2 separate regions of the Homo sapiens genome follow, and region 2 is linked to region 1. The links are contacts of gene promoters, found by promoter capture Hi-C in blood cells and fetal thymus (Javierre and others, 2016). All regions are on one chromosome and are shown on one strand. The core of a region is centred on a gene start or on the middle of the fragment in contact, and the rest is flanking DNA. Distances in the headings are between cores, read along the strand shown. Region 1 holds the start of CTSD (cathepsin D). Region 2 overlaps LSP1 (lymphocyte specific protein 1).

The links. The method cuts DNA at HindIII sites, captures the fragments that hold promoters and counts their contacts. A CHiCAGO score of 5 or more calls a contact.
Region 2: a fragment that was not itself captured here is called in contact with the fragment with the promoter of CTSD in region 1 in 1 of 17 cell types (monocytes); the score reaches 7.8 in monocytes.

What each region holds. Positions count from the first base shown.
Region 1 is chr11:1,762,677-1,769,823 of GRCh38, forward strand. CTSD (cathepsin D) reads right to left here and starts at 1,251. Exons shown (of 9, transcript NM_001909.5): 1 at 1,116-1,251. The coding sequence starts at 1,183. RefSeq lists silencers at 821-910, 1,161-1,630. The HindIII fragment of the contact is 14,818 bases long and covers 1-5,359 here.
Region 2 is chr11:1,864,152-1,871,774 of GRCh38, forward strand. The region is part of intron 1 of LSP1 (lymphocyte specific protein 1); the gene reads left to right. Among named protein-coding and RNA genes, the nearest start is that of MIR4298, 8.4 kb to the left of the region's middle. RefSeq lists enhancers at 6,450-6,988, 6,989-7,526. The HindIII fragment of the contact is 173 bases long and covers 6,140-6,312 here.

The DNA of each region.
Region 1 (7,147 bases), core at 1-2,500:
CAGCTACCCTTCCCTCCAAGAAGCCCCAGGATCGTTTCCCCTCTGCTGTGTCTGTCCTCCTTGGAGAGGGGAGGCCTGTGGATAGGCTGGCAAGGTCAAGGCAGGCTCAGGCTTGTGGCTACTCCCCCACAACGACTTTAATTGGGGCTACCCGCCCCCGGGCCATTCCCCACAGCCTTTGGTGAGGCTCAGTCCTACCCAGCTGGCCCAGCCAGCTCCAGCCCCTGCAGCCTTCTGACCTCACCCACCTGCCAAAAGGCAGTGGACCCATCGCAGATCCCAGGTCTCCCACAAAGGCCCAGAGCAAGGGTGGGGCAGGTGCCCAATGGGATGGGTCAGCATACCCCTCCTGGGAATGCGGGCTGCCTTGCAAGGGCTGGGGAGGGGGTCAAGAAAGCAGACTGCAGCATGGCCCTCCTCTGCCCAGCTGGTCAGGCATGGCCGGGCCCCATCCCATCCAGGCCCAATCGGTGGCCTCACCTGGCACAGGGGATCGGCCTGAGGAGCGTGTGGGCCTCACTACAGCACAACCCCAGGCCCGGGGTGGGTGAGCCGACCCACTCCCCATGCCTCCTCCTCTCTCAGGGACATGGGAACTCCTAGGGTCTCGAGGGGTCTCCCAGCCCAGGGCCTGTGATAAGAGCCGCTGGAGCAAACTTTTAAAGCCCCCAGTTCACAGGTGGTAAAGGGGTCCCTAAGGAAATGGACTCGCCCAGACTCGGGGGCTCTGAGGCCTGACCTAGGTCTCCAGCAACAAGGGCGCTCAGTACAGACCCCAATTCCACCTGCCCCGAATGAGCACTACCTCCCCCCGCCCCGCCCCGTCTCCAGGGAGGCTGCGGTCAGTCTGCAGTCCTCAAGGTACAACCCAGGGTGGCATATGGGGGAGAGGCATCTGGCGCCTCTGCCCCGGGTCCCCTGCACCTCCGGAGCCCGGCGCCCCGTAGGCGGGTGGTCCGTGCAGGAGGCCGCGCAGGGCGGCACAGGTGCATTCCAGCGCGGGGGGCGCAAGGGGCTCGTGGGGGCCACAGGGGAGCGCGAAAGTCACCACAGGCCCCGGGACCTCGGCGCCGCGACCCCTGCCCGTCCCTGAGCCCCGGCCCCTGAGGCTTCACCTGACGAGCGCGGAGGCGGGTGCAGCCAGCAGGCAGAGGGCGAGCGGCAGAAGGCTGGAGGGCTGCATGGCGGCGGCGGCCGGGTCGGAGAGGGTCGCCGAGGCCGTGCGCTTATAGCCGGGATGACGCCGCAGTTGGGCCGGATCAGCTGACCCGCGTGTTTGCACCCGGACCGGTCACGTGGGCGCGGCCGGCGTGCGCGGGGCGGGGCGGAGCGGGGCCTGGCCTGGGCGGGGCAACCTCGGCGCACGCGCACAGCGCCCGGGCGGGGGGCGGGGTGGTGGTGCGCCTGCCGCGCCTACAGTTCCCGCCGCTCGCGCCCGCGGGGTCAGCCCGGCCCAGCTTCTGGGGTCTGGAGGATTCCCGTTTCGGCCTGGCCTGGGGTCGTGGGGCGGCCCACCCTGGAGGGCCCCGCGGGGTGACCCCTGTCCCGGCCGCCGCGGCCGTCCCCGCGTCCAGGCCTGCGCGGGGCGCTGCGCCGTGGGCTCCTGCACCTGCTCCTCCCGGCGCCCCCTCGTCCCCCTCCGAGACGCTCCCAGACATCCTCTCTGGAAGCCTCTTGCAAACCAAGGTTAAATTCAAAGTCCCCAGCCCACCGAATGGACCCTCCGCTCCTCTACAGGGCTTCCAGAGAAACCTGGAAAACCAGCTCAGGCCCTGCCGCAAAGGGGGTCGGACCCGCTCCGCCCTCTCCCTCTGGGCGCTGTGCTTAGAGACTCAGGCCTCACCGATGGCTCTAGCCTCCAGATCCCAAATTCCAGCCTCACACTGGCACAGCCTCACGTGGCAGACAGCAGGCCCGAAGGCAGGCAAAGTATTCCACCCTAAAATACATTCCTTTCACATGTTTTGATATGGCACTGCACAGCTGTCTCTTGAGGGGGCGAAATTCGCGTTTTCTAGAGAAGCTCCTTCCCTTAGGAGGTCGGGCACCTTTTGTCCACTCACGTCAACTCTTTTTTTTTTTTTTTTTTTTTTGAGACAGAATCTCGCTCTGTGGCCCAGGCTGGAGTGCAGTGGCATGATCTCGGCTCACTGCAACCTCTACCTCCTGGGTTCAAGCGATTCTCCTGCCTCAGCCTCCTAAGTAGCTGGGATTACAGGCGCGTGCTACCACGCCTGGCTAATATGTATATATACACACACGTATGTATATATATATATACACACACACACATATATAGTGTATATATACACATATATATACGTATATATATACACTATATATGTATATACATATATGTATATGTGTATATATGTGTATATATACATGTATATGTGTATATATGTGTATATATATACATGTATATGTGTATATATATACATGTATATGTGTATATATATACATGTATATGTGTATATATATACATGTATATGTGTATATATATACATGTATATGTGTATATATATATACATGTATATGTGTATATATGTTTTGTATTTTTAGTAGAGATGGTGTTTCACCATGTTGGCCAGGCTGGTCTCGAACTCCTGACCTCAGGTGATCTGCCTGCCTCAGCCTTCCAAAGTGCTGGGATTACAGGCGTGAGTAATCCCACTTTAACTCTTTAGGCAAAACATAACTCTTTCAACCACTTGCCAATCAGGAAATCTTTGAATCCCCTATGACCTGGAAGCTGCCCCTGCCAACCCTGTTTCTAGGCTGAACCAATGTATATCTTACATATGTTGATTTATGGTTTTGGCCTGTAACATCTGTCTCTGTAAAATCCGTAAAACCAGGCCGGGCATGGTGACTGTTGCCTATAATCCCAGCATACTCGGAGGCCAAGGTGGGAGCATTGCTTGAGCTGAAGAGCTTGAGATCAGCCTGGGCAACATGGTGAGACCCTGTCTCTACAGAAAAGACCTGAAAATTTTAAAAAAAAGTATAAAGCCAAGCTGTTACCCAGCCACCTTGCTCACATATTCTCAGGACCTGCTGAGGTGGTTTCACAGGTCATAGTCCTCACATTTGCTCAGAATAAATATCTTCAAATATTTTATAGTGTTTGGCTTTTTTTCAACAACACTCCCTATACCCAGGGTACCCAGATGGACCTCATCCTTACTCTCCAAGTGTCCCCTGCCCAAGCGCCCACTCTCCACCTCCTCAGAGCAGCACCTCACTGGGCCCTGCCCTGGCCACCCTGGGCCCTCCTCCCTTAGCCCAGACTTGCCCATCTCCAATGTGGCACCATCCCTGGAACCCCATCTCCAACGTGGCACCGTCCCTGGAACCCCGTCTTCAACGTGGCACTGTCCCTGGAACCCCATCTCTAACGTGGCACCGTCCCTGGAACCCCGTCTTCAACGTGGCACTGTCCCTGGAGGCCTGTCTCCAACGTGGCACCGTCCCTCTAGGCCCCGACCTCAAAGGTGAGCAGTGTATCCAGGTCAGAAACTGGGTCTCCCGACACTGAGCCTGCAGAGGCCATGGTGACAGTTGCCCCAGGACTTCACCATTCTCGTGTGCCCTGGTCCTGCCTGGCATGGGGGACTGAATTAGGCCTGTTGGAGGGGAGGGCCCGGTCATTCCCCAGATGCTCTGGAGCACACAGCCAGGCGGGAGGTGCGGTCGCTGTAAGTAGGAAAGGGATATTGGGACAAATCATTTAAGGCAGGTCCAAGTCACACAGGAAATGGAGCCAGGGGATGTGCTCAACAGCGACCTCCGCAGGAAGGTCCCTCCAAGAAGGTGGCATCTGAGCTTGGACCCAAATGAAGGATGCTTCCCCATGCTCTCACCCAGGGTGCGTTTTCTCCTCCCAGCTCCCTGCGAGGTAGATGGGCCCAACCCCGCTTTACAGAGGCAGTGAGGTTCTGTGGTTCTCGGCGGGCGGGATTGGAATTCCCACCTTTTCTGTAACCAAATATATCAGGACCTTGGCCCTTGCGGAACCTCCCCGAAGCTGGATCTGCCTGATGGCCACAAATGAGTGGCTGCCCCCTCAGCCCCACCTTCCCGCCCATTTAGAGCCCTTCATCTGAGGGGGTTCTAAGCCTGAACACAGAAGCCCGAGCAGACAGACACCCTTGCCCTCAGAATCTGCCCAGCTGCTGGGGGTCCACACCTTGCCCTCAGAATCCGCCCAGCTGTTGGGGGCCCACGGCCAGCCTGGACCTGGCACCTGGGGTTATCACGTGCTTTCCAGTGGGCTGGGATCTTGGAGATGTCAGCCGACCCTGGGGGACTGGACTCCAGCAAGGGGTGAAAGATGGTCCCAGCTAGTGTCCCCTGAGCCACCCTGCTCGGTCCCCAGGTCCAGTGGTGGACGAAGCATTTGGTGTCCAGGATACTGAGATACGCACCTGTGAGGACGCATGCCCACAGAGCGTGGCCGACACTCCACCCAGAGGTCCCGGTGAGCCGGTGAGGCTGCGAGCCAGTGGGTAGTGCGGATGGCCAGTGGGGCCAGAAGCACAACGTGGCAGCGAGCTGTGGGGTGTGTGGGCCGGTGCTAGCCAGGCTAAGAGCCTTGGACCATCCCCTGAGACAACGGGGCACTGTTGAGCAAGGACCCTCTCGGGGCCCCAAGGGTGAAGAGGCCCCACCCCACCGCAGATACCATCTGTTATTCTGTTTATTACAGAGGGGGCATTCTGCCTGGGCCCGCTCAGCTTCCCAGCTCCTGGAGCAGAGCCCGGCACGTGGTAGGTGCCCAGTAATTATGTGTGGGATGAATGCCTGGGTGTTCAGGGTCCCCGAGGGACTGACCCACCAGGCAGGGTGGGACCCTGCTGGCATATTGGGTGAAGGTCAAGGGAGTGGCTTCTAATCCCCTTGCCTCTGGCTCACCCGGGCAGACCCTCTCAATCTGGGCCTCACCTCTGTCCCTGGAGAGTTGAGGTTGGGCTAACGGTCTCTGGAGCCCTTGCCTGCCCCTGCTAGGAGCTGAGGGTACAGAAGCGACCCCTGGCCTCCTTGTCTGGCTCAGATTCCCCAGACTCCTGCACCTGCCAGGCCGATTCAGGAGACCCTCTTCCCACCAGGGCTGCCTTCAGGGCTCCTGGGCCAGTGGGTGCTGCAGCGTGTCCAGGCCCCGCCTCTGGCAGAGTGCAGGGGACAGGGCCCTTTTTCACCTTTCACACCCTTCGGCTGACCGCATGCAGGGACATGGGCTCCATCTGTGGGGTGCTCGGCCCACCTGGGGAGAGGAGGCAGGAGGTGGGGGCCAGGCCCAGGCTCCATCTCAGCCTTTGCCATCGCAGCCCACTGAGCTTCCCACCACGGAGGGGCCCCAAGCTTCTCTCTGGGAAGCCAGCCACAGGACGGGGGTCGTGGCTTCTCCGGCTCCCTCCTGGCTGTGTGGAGAGTCAGGGAATCAGAGGATGGCAAAGTGCCCGAGAGGAAAGGGGCAGAGAAGGGAGTCGGACCTGCTGGGTGCCCGCTGCATGCTGACACCTAACAGGGGCAAGCAAGGGCTGGAGGCTGTCAGCCCAACCCTGCCTCTCCATGGGGAGTGCTGAATCCCAGACTGGAAAGGGTCTGCCTGGATGGGTCAGTCCCTTGGGAGCCTTGAGAATCTGCTCATTCACTCAACATGTGAGTGTCGGGCACCTACCACGAGTAGACGCTGCTCTAGGAAATCGAGAAAACAATAGGGAAATTCCCACCCAGTGCCGTTCATATATAGACAGGGGTGGGGGTGGGGAGGTGTGTGGAGGGGCAGAGATTAAAATGAAGCTGGGGGGTGGGTGGGACGCCCACGCAGGGCTTGGGGAGTGGAACGTACCAAAGAGGAGGCTGCTGCAGGGCACAGAGAGGGGCAGGGGAGGGCCCTGCGGGAAGAGAAGCCTCTTCTAATCGACCTTTTTTTTTTGAGGTGGAATTTCATTCTGTTGCCCTGGCTGGAGTGCAGTGGCGTGATCTCCACTCACTGCAACCTCTCCCTCCCAGGTTCAATCGGTTTTCCAGCCTCAGCATCCGGAGTAGCTGGGATTACAGTTGCCCACCACCACGCCTGGCTAATTTTTGTATTTTAAGTAGAGATGGGGTTTTGCCATGTTGGCCAGGCTGATCTTGAACTCCTGACCTCAGGTGATCCGCCCACCTTGGCCTCCCAAAGTGCTGGGATTACAGGCGTCAGCCACCCCGCCAGGCGCTCTAATCAGACTTGAAGGAGGTAATAAACCAAAGGCCTGGTCAGGAGCCGCTGACATGAGAACAGGAGAGCAGAGGCCATGAGGCAAAGGGAGCCGGCCTGGAGGTGGGGAGGAAAGGAAGCAGTCCGAGGTCAGAGAGAGGCAGTGAGAAGGGGTGAGACTCTGGATGCACTTTTGAGGTAGGGCCAGAGAATTTCCAGGTGGATTATTCGAAACCACCTTTGCAAAATTATGGCTGAGATAGCGGAAGAGCTCTAACTGAATCAACTCCATCTTGCTTCTAATCTCAAGCCATCCTTGTTCATTCCTGGGTGTCGGCTGAACTGTCTTTGAGAGGAATTTAGTTTATAGTTTAAACAAAGATGTTAACAGCCCTTTCCCCAAGCAGAACTCCTTCTTGCCTGGGGACTAGATGGCCTTTGTAGGACTAACATTAGCCACAGGGTTAGAAATTATGGTTTAGGAGTCATGCAGCTGGAGGCTACAAGATTCTGACCCTCTCTCAACTGCTCCTAAGATCAGCGCCTAAGATATTTTGCAGACCTTGCACTTGACGGATCAGCTGGCACCACCCAGATCAATAAACTGGCTCATCTGATCTTGTGGCCCCCATCCAGGAACTGACTCACCGCAAGAAGACAGCTCCAACCCTCTGTGATTTCATCCCTGGCCAATCAGCACTCCTGCCTCACTGGCTTCCCCGTACCGCCAAGTTGTCCTTAAGAACTCTGCTCCGCAGCACACCAATGTGGCACATGTATACATATGTAACAAACCTGCACGTTGTGCACCTGTACCCTAGAACTTAAAGTATAATAGAAATAAATAAATAAATAAATAAATAAATAAATAAATAAAAACAACAACAACTCTGCTCCATGAATGCTTGGGGAGACTGATTTGAGTAATAATAAAACTCCACTCTC
Region 2 (7,623 bases), core at 4,976-7,475, 110 kb after region 1:
AGGAGAGAGGGGCTGAGTGCGAGACGGGGAAGGAGGGGACGGGACAAAGAGGAACCAGCGAAGGGTCCAGGCCTGCGATGATGGTGAGGGAGGTGGCAGGTTGACGAGGGGCTGGACAAGAACGGCCGACGAAGGAGAAGAACAGAGGAGGGCCCGGGCAGGGCCTGGCAGAGGGCATGAGGCACTCCGAGGTGGGAGGCGGCGATGGGCAGAATAGGCCCCTGTGCCTGGGGCAGGGGCACCACAGAGGGCTAGGGGAGACCGAGAAGCGGGCAGCGGCTACCAAGGTGGCCTGAGGGCAGAGGCGGAGGGAGGAAGGGAAAGAGGAAGGGAGGGAGGGAGGGAAGGAGGCAGCCACGCTGCCCATCAGCGCGCCACAGAGGTCTGGCTGAGCCCCACGCTGCTGGGCTGGGAGAGTTTTCGCTCTGACATTTTTACTCTTCTCGGAAGGAGGAGGAGGTGGAGGTGGAAGAGATGGAGGCGGGAGGAGAAGGGGGCTGGGGGAAACAAAAGAGAAGCAGCTGCTGAGAGTCCTGAAGTAGGAGAGGGGAAAGGGAGACCCACAGTCAGGGAGACCCACAGGGATGGGGACACAGGGACCAGGCTGCCTGCAGGGAGCCGGCCTGCAGACCCTCGTGCCAGGAGCCGAAGGGAGGGACCAGGCTGCCCACAGACCCCTGTGCCAGGTGCCAGAGGGAGGGACCAGGCTGCCCAAGGGAGCCGGCCCACAGACTCCTGTGCCAGGGGCCAGAGGGGCCAAGACAGGCAGGCAGAGGGTCACAGGGACAAGGAGAACACCAGACAGAGAGAAGGGACAGGGGAGGGGTGACAGCCAGCGAGAGACCGAGGGCCAGGGCAGAGCGCCAAGGAAGTGCAGGAGTGAGAGGGGCCAGGAGAGGCAGGAAAGCCAAGGAGAGCTGGGCACAGGGGGGCAGGGGTGCGGGAGGAGGGCAGCAGAGAGGAGGGCCAGCAGGACAGGAGCCTTTGAGATGCTGCTCTATCCCCGGGGCTGGGGTCAGGCCAGGTCGCCGCCTGAGCAGAGGCTGCAGCCTGGGCAGTCCCGGGCTTCTGAGGAGGAACTCTAGCAGACAGGGCCTGGATACCTCTTGAGGTAGGTCCCTCCTGCCCTGGCTGGGCATGGAGGGCAGGGCAGGGTGCCCATGCTGGGCTGCCACATGCACCGGGCCACTGGGCCTCCCCCCAGCTTCGGTAGGCTCTGCTGCCCCAAGCGTGGGCAGCGAGAGGGTGCCAGGCTGGTTGCGTGTACATGTGTGAGTGCGGAGGCTGCTTGAGGCCTCTCTTCCTCCTGGCTCCTGGCAGCTGCCCATGCATTCTCCTTCCCCATCCCACCTGCACTGCCGGCTGCGCTGTCGCCTGCTCACACCGTCCCACCCGCACCGCCGGCTGCACTGTCACCCGCTCACACCGTCCCACCTGCACCGCCGGCTGCACTGTCACCCATTCACACCATCCCACCTGCACCACCGACTGCACTGTCACCCGCTCACGCCGTCCCACCTGCACCGCCGGCTGCACTGTCACCTGCTCACACCTCTCCCCGAGCCCCAGGGATTCTGCTTGACTCTGAGCCCCCAAAATGAAGGGCCCATCCTCTGGGTGGCTTCTGGGGCCTCCCGTGGGGTCCTTCGGATCCTGGGCACCCTTCAGTCACCCTCACTTCACAGATCATGAAACTGAACTTTGGGCTGAGCTTACCGGCCCTGGCTGCAGCCACCAACCCTGAGTGGGAGGCTCCTCAGGGCCAGGGAAGGTGCCCGGGCCTTGTCCACCTGCAGGTGTTGGGCCAGTGTGGTGCCCTCTCCCAGCCTGTTTCTTCCTCTGTAAAGTAGTGGTGTGGCCCTTCATGGGGTCAGGTGGGAGAGCAGAGTTTGGAGGGCCCAAGGCTCCTCAAGACCCAGCCTGGGCAGTCTCAGAGATATCCCTCTGCACCGTCAGCCACTCTGAGCCGCCTGTAGTGCCCTTTCTCCTCCTCAACCCTTCCAGGCTTTTAAGCCAAACTGAAACACCACCTCCTGCTTGAAGGCTGCCTTGCTTCTTCCTAACCTGGAGGGCTGTCCTGCTCTGACTTCCTTTGATGGCATGGAGCATGCTGGCCGGACCTCGAGCTACTGGAAGGCAGGGCTGGCATCGGTCGGCTTGCCACTGCCCACCCAGGCCAGGCACTCAGTGCTGAGACTCTGAGAGGCCAGAGAGCCAGGGATGCCCATGGGGGTGAGCTAAGTGGGGTCTGAGGAGTTGAGGGCAGCCCGGCTCACCCCTCCTCCCCAGCTCCCACTTGTTGGGTCCGTGCAGATGCAGAGAGATGGCTCCGATCTGGTCCCCACCTGGCAGGGTCTCCGGCTGTCACCTGAGTTCAGGACCAGCACCAGGATCTGCAGTGGGCCCCTGGCTGGGCACACCTCATCCCAGCCTCCCCCTACCCCTGGCCCCCCATAAGCCTCCTCCTCCTGGGCTTCCAGGCTCTGCTGGTCAGACCTCCCTCCCTGCCCAACGGGAATGTGTTTTCCCAGGGGACGCTGCTGTCCACCAGGAGCTCTGTGGCCTGGGATTTGAGGAGTGCCTGGGGTCAATCCCCCAGGCTCACCAGTGCTACTTAACAAATGGGCCCAAGAGAAGGAAGTGCAGCCCCCGGAGGAGGGGCAGAGCCCCTGCCTGGCTGTGCGGTGGCTCACCCCCTTGTCACCAGGGGCTCGGCCATGAGCATCCGTCCAGCGGGCCCAGCACCAACTGCAGCCCCAGGTGAGCAAGCCGCACTCAGGAGGCACTGAAACCGTGTGGGCCCAGGCTCGGGGCCAGTCCCTGTGGACCTGGGGAGGAGACACTGAAGCCGCGTGGGCCCAGGCTCAGGGCCAGTCCCTGTGGACCTGGGGAGGAGGCACTGAAGCCGCGTGGGCTCAGGCTCGGGGCCAGTCCCTGTGGACCTGGGGAGGAGACAGTGAGGAGGGGACCTCACTTGCGGTGGTCAGCCAGTGGGTTGGTGGCATAAGGACCCGTCCCTTTGAACTCCCTTGGAACTTGTCCTGATGGGGGCTGGGCAGAGGGCAGCAAGAGTCCCTTGTCCAGCTAAGGGGAGCCACCAAGGTGAGCTACATGAAGCAAGGCTGACACGTGTGCACTAATACACACCCCCTCCAGGACACAGACCCAGAGGCCGCTGCACCCCACCCACCCACCACACCCACACACACACATGCACACACACACGACCACCCGGGACAGTACTGCGCTCACCACCACTGCCATGATCTCTTCTCTGCAGCCTCCAACAGCTCGGACTTCCCCAGTCCCAGCCCTGCAGGCCAGGCAGACTGCCCCCTACCCACTCCCTGTTGGATAAAGGAGTGAGCCAGGCTCAGAGAAGCTGTGGGTGAAGAGACTTCAAGGCCACTCAGCCGGGCATGATGAGCCCGGGTCCCTGGGTCCCTCCTCCACCCGCATCACCCCACCCCTTTCCCGGGGACCCCTTGGGTGTCCTGCCATGTCAGGTGCAGGGCTGGGAGAGGCATTGCAGGCAAAGTGCTGTGTCCTCAGTGATGAACCCTGAAGGGCCATGCTAGGTGCCCGCAGCTGCCAGGGAATAAATTCAATGCAGTTTACATCCATTAAAAATGGTGCTCTGGGCCAGTGGGAAAACGTGTCCCCCCTGCCCCGTCGCCCCCCACCCCTGCCCCAGCGATTCTCCTTGTCTACACCCAGTGCAAGCCCAGGGGCTCTGCATGTAGTCCCATAACACCATTTTCTCCAGGTCTGGCTGTACCCAGCCCCTGCCAGAATGCGGCTTCTGGCTGGCAGGGTCAGGCCCTGGGCTGACCTACCCCCAATGCCTCCCTGCCAAGTCTGCCCTTCCAGGCACCTGGGAGTCTGCCCTGTGCCTCCTGCCTGCCCCTGGGCAACTCGGGGCTCTCCCAGGGCCAGCTCGGGCAAGGCAAGTGTTAGGGATGGTCAGGGGACCTCAAGAGGACTTCAGCCCACTCAACTCCAGACGTCACCCGGACTCAGCCAGCGGCCTGGCCCTGCTACCTGTGGGGTCCTGGCTTTGTGAGAGGGCACCAGGCCGGCTGAGAGTGCCTTGTAGCCTGGCCCGGAGTGAAGAGGGGGGCTGGGGATCAGCCTGGCAGACGTTCTTATCAAGCATTGAGGTCCCCGGAGCCCCGTGCCCACCCTTAGCCATGGCTCTTTGGGCGGTGTGAGCCCCTCCATTCCCTCCATCTCGGGCACACATCTGCCCACACATATACAGATGTGGCAGCCACACCGTGCTTGGCTCTCCGCAGGGCTCTAAGGCCCCTCAGGCAGGGACCCACCCTGAGCAGCCTGGTCCAGGGACCTCTGGGGCTCCTGATGTGGCCAGTGGGGCAGGAATGGGCTGGCAGCCTGCTGGGCTGGCCCTGAGGGGGCTGGGGGAAGCCAGGCCTCCAACCACAGTGTCCAAAAGGGTGTGGCTGCCTTGGGCCCATCCAGGCCTGAGATCCTGAGGGTGGGGTAGCCCCCGCCCTGGCAGGGCTGGAAGTCGGTCTTCGGACAGAGCCCGTCCTGCCCAGAAGCCCAGGCGAGCCAGCAGCAGGGGTGCAGGGACCGAGTGGCCCAGCCCCCTGGGCAGGGTGTCAGGGCCAGAGCCCAGAGGACGGCGGTTCAGGCTTCAGTCCCAGCCGGCGAACCAGAGCTGGGCAGAGCGGCCAGCAAGCGGCAGCCAGGGTGCCCTGGGCACTCGACCCCCAGATGCCCCTGCTGGAACCGTAAAGGGGAGGCACCCTGAGGCCAGAGGGAGCATGGCCCCGGGGACTGAGCATCCGGCTCAGAGCGGCTTGGCAGAGGTCGGTGGACTGGGGTTAACCACAGAGGTCTCTGGAGGGCAGACAGGAGCCACTGCAAGTGGGAGCTTGTGGGAGAGAAGCCCTTGGGTGACCCCTGGATGGGGCGGGGACCATTAGGGAGAAGGGTGAGGGGCTTGGCCCCTGCCCCAGGCTCCAAGTGGGCTGAGACCCGGGAGGCTTGAGGGTCGGCTGCTACCCATGACGGGTTGGGGAGGTATTGGTGCGAGCTGAGGTGGTGCTTGCGGAGGTGAGATTGAGGGCCGGGCCTGGCCAGGGATGCTGGGAGGGGGGCAACCCTGTGCCTGGGGCTGTGAGGGTCTCTTGACGAGAACAAACCCTACCTGGGGAGAAGTGACAGAGAAAAGAAAGAAAGAAAGCGAAGGCACGAGAAAGAAATGAGAGAAAGGGAGGGAAAAATGCTGAGAGGGAGGGAGAGCAGGGGCTGCCTTGAAGGAGGAGGGAGGGGGAGCAGAAGCGGGTGCAGGGTGGTGGCAGGATGGGAAGGGCAGAGGGAGGGGCTGAGGTGCGAATGGAAGCTGTGTGAGGGTCCCGGGCACTGCCCCTTGCCGCCGACCCCAGGTGTGGGAGGAGGGGTCTCTCCCACGTGGGCCGCACCTAGCAGGTGCCGGGGCAGAAGGCTCAGAGCCGCTGTCTCACACAGCTTCTTGGTGCTCCAAAGACGGGCGGTAGGAGGAAGATCAAAGAAGCGAGAAATGGATGCTGGAGGAACGCAGTGAGGCCAGGCGAGGGCTGGCGAGCTTGCCAAGGAGAGGGCGGGCGAGGAAAATGGGGCGCCCCACAGAGGAGGGGGCGTGGGGGGGGCTGGTTTTCCCCGAGACTGAGAAATGAATTTCTGCACCCGGACTGGGACCCCCTGGGTCAGGACCCTCCACTCACATTCAGGAGCAGCACCTCTTCTGGCCTCTGTCCCTGCCTGGTCTTCCCCACACCCGGTTCTTGGGGGTTGAGGGGTTGGAGCCCCAGCCACGTCATCAGCTCCCTGGGACCCCTGCGTGAGACGTGAGAGGTGCACCTCCGAGCCTCCGTTTGTGCATCTGTAATGGGGATGATAGGACTGCGCCCCTGGCGACCATTGTGAGGACGGAGGCGCTGGCTGCACTGGTGCTCACTGTGCCTCTTTAAACGGGGATGTCTGGACCTCTGGTGCAGAGGACCAAGGCCGGTCCACTTGACCTCAGCCATGAGGACATCCCAAGGCCATGTGAGTCTCCCACGGCCCACTGAAGCTGGTCCTTCATACCCCATTTTGCAAACAGGAAAGCTGAGGCTCAGGGAGGCACCAAAGCTTACTCCCATCCTGGGGCTTGGCAGGGGGTGCCCGCAGCACCCGGGGACATACACCGGGGAGTCTCCTGGGAAAGAAGTGCCGGCCCAGGGGCAGACTCTTTTCTGCTCTGCCATGTCTTCCCTGCACCCCCAGGGATGATGAGTCTGGGAGGGGCTGGTCAGCCATGAAAGCTTCGGGGAGGGGCCGGTGGCCAGGCCGGGCACCCCAGAGCTCCACAGGCAGACATGGTGTGGGGGTGTCAGGAAGAGGGCCTGGCTGCTGGGTGCTACGGTAGGAAGATCCCGGTGCTGTGGGAGTGGAGCAGGTGGTTGAATGCCAGGCTGGCTTGGTCCTTCTCTCTGGGTGCCGGCTGTGGCTCCCGCCCAGGTGGGCACCACGTCTGAATAATGTATGAAGCCTCTGGTTGCGTGGAGGATGGGAGCGCTTCGGGCAGCATCTGTGGGCAGAGACTTCAGGGATGTGAGGTACATCTGGGCATGGCTAGCTGGGAAGGAAAGAGGATGGCAGAGCCTCGAGCCGTTGCCAGGGACTGGTTGCGTGTCCCAGAACGTGCCAAAAGCCTGCCTCGTGAGCACGGCAAGAGCTCTGCCAGGGCAGTCCCAGCTGGCCCAGGCGCCGCAGCGCTCCCGAGGGCCGTCGAGCAAAGGCGGGAGGCGCAGCCGGGCTGTCGGTGGACCTGTAGGTATCAGGGCTCCTTGGTCCCCTCCTGCGGGAAGCAGGCACCGAGTGGGGCTGCATGTAGACGCATGCGAGGGTGAGAGCTGCGGCGGAGGACGCTGATCGCGGAGTGCAGGCGAGGGCCCCAGAAAGGTCCCGCAGGTCGCCTCGCTCGTGGCACGGGCTCGGCAGCGTTGTGGTTAGTGACACGGAGGAAGACAGAAAGCCATATGCACAGCACGCAGAACAGGAGGAGGGGGGAAGAAAGAGCAGGCACGGGGCAGGCAGAGCCGCAGCCACGCCGCCGGGATGCAGCAGGCAGGGCCACCCACGAGCAGGGCGGGGCCCTAACCTCCGACCCAGGCTGGTCGCCGCAGATGGGGGCAGAGATGTGAAACAGCTGCAGAGCGGGACAAGGGTGCTGCCGGCACAGGGCTGACCACAGAGCACATCAAAAGAGGTAGGGCACCCAGCGCAAGGGAGGTGATGGGCTGGTCAGCAGGACATCAAGCCGGTTCTGGACCCTGCTCTGAGGACGGTCCCTGACCCAGCCTCTGAGGACCAATGGGAAGCCAGGGGTAGAGGGGTTGGGGGAAACCAGGCTCCATTTTCCAGTCTCAGCAGGGGGCCAAGGCTTGCGGCTCTGCGGAGGCCACACCATGAGGTTTCCAGGGTCATAGATGCCCTTTGGTCAGCGCTGTCTGCCGCTGCACGGGCACCCCTCCTGTTGGGTGTCTGGGTAGACTTGGGGGTCTGTCCGGCTGGCGTGGGCACCTTTGGGAGGGGGGTGTGTGTGGCGGGCAGGCCTGGGCTGTAGTCACC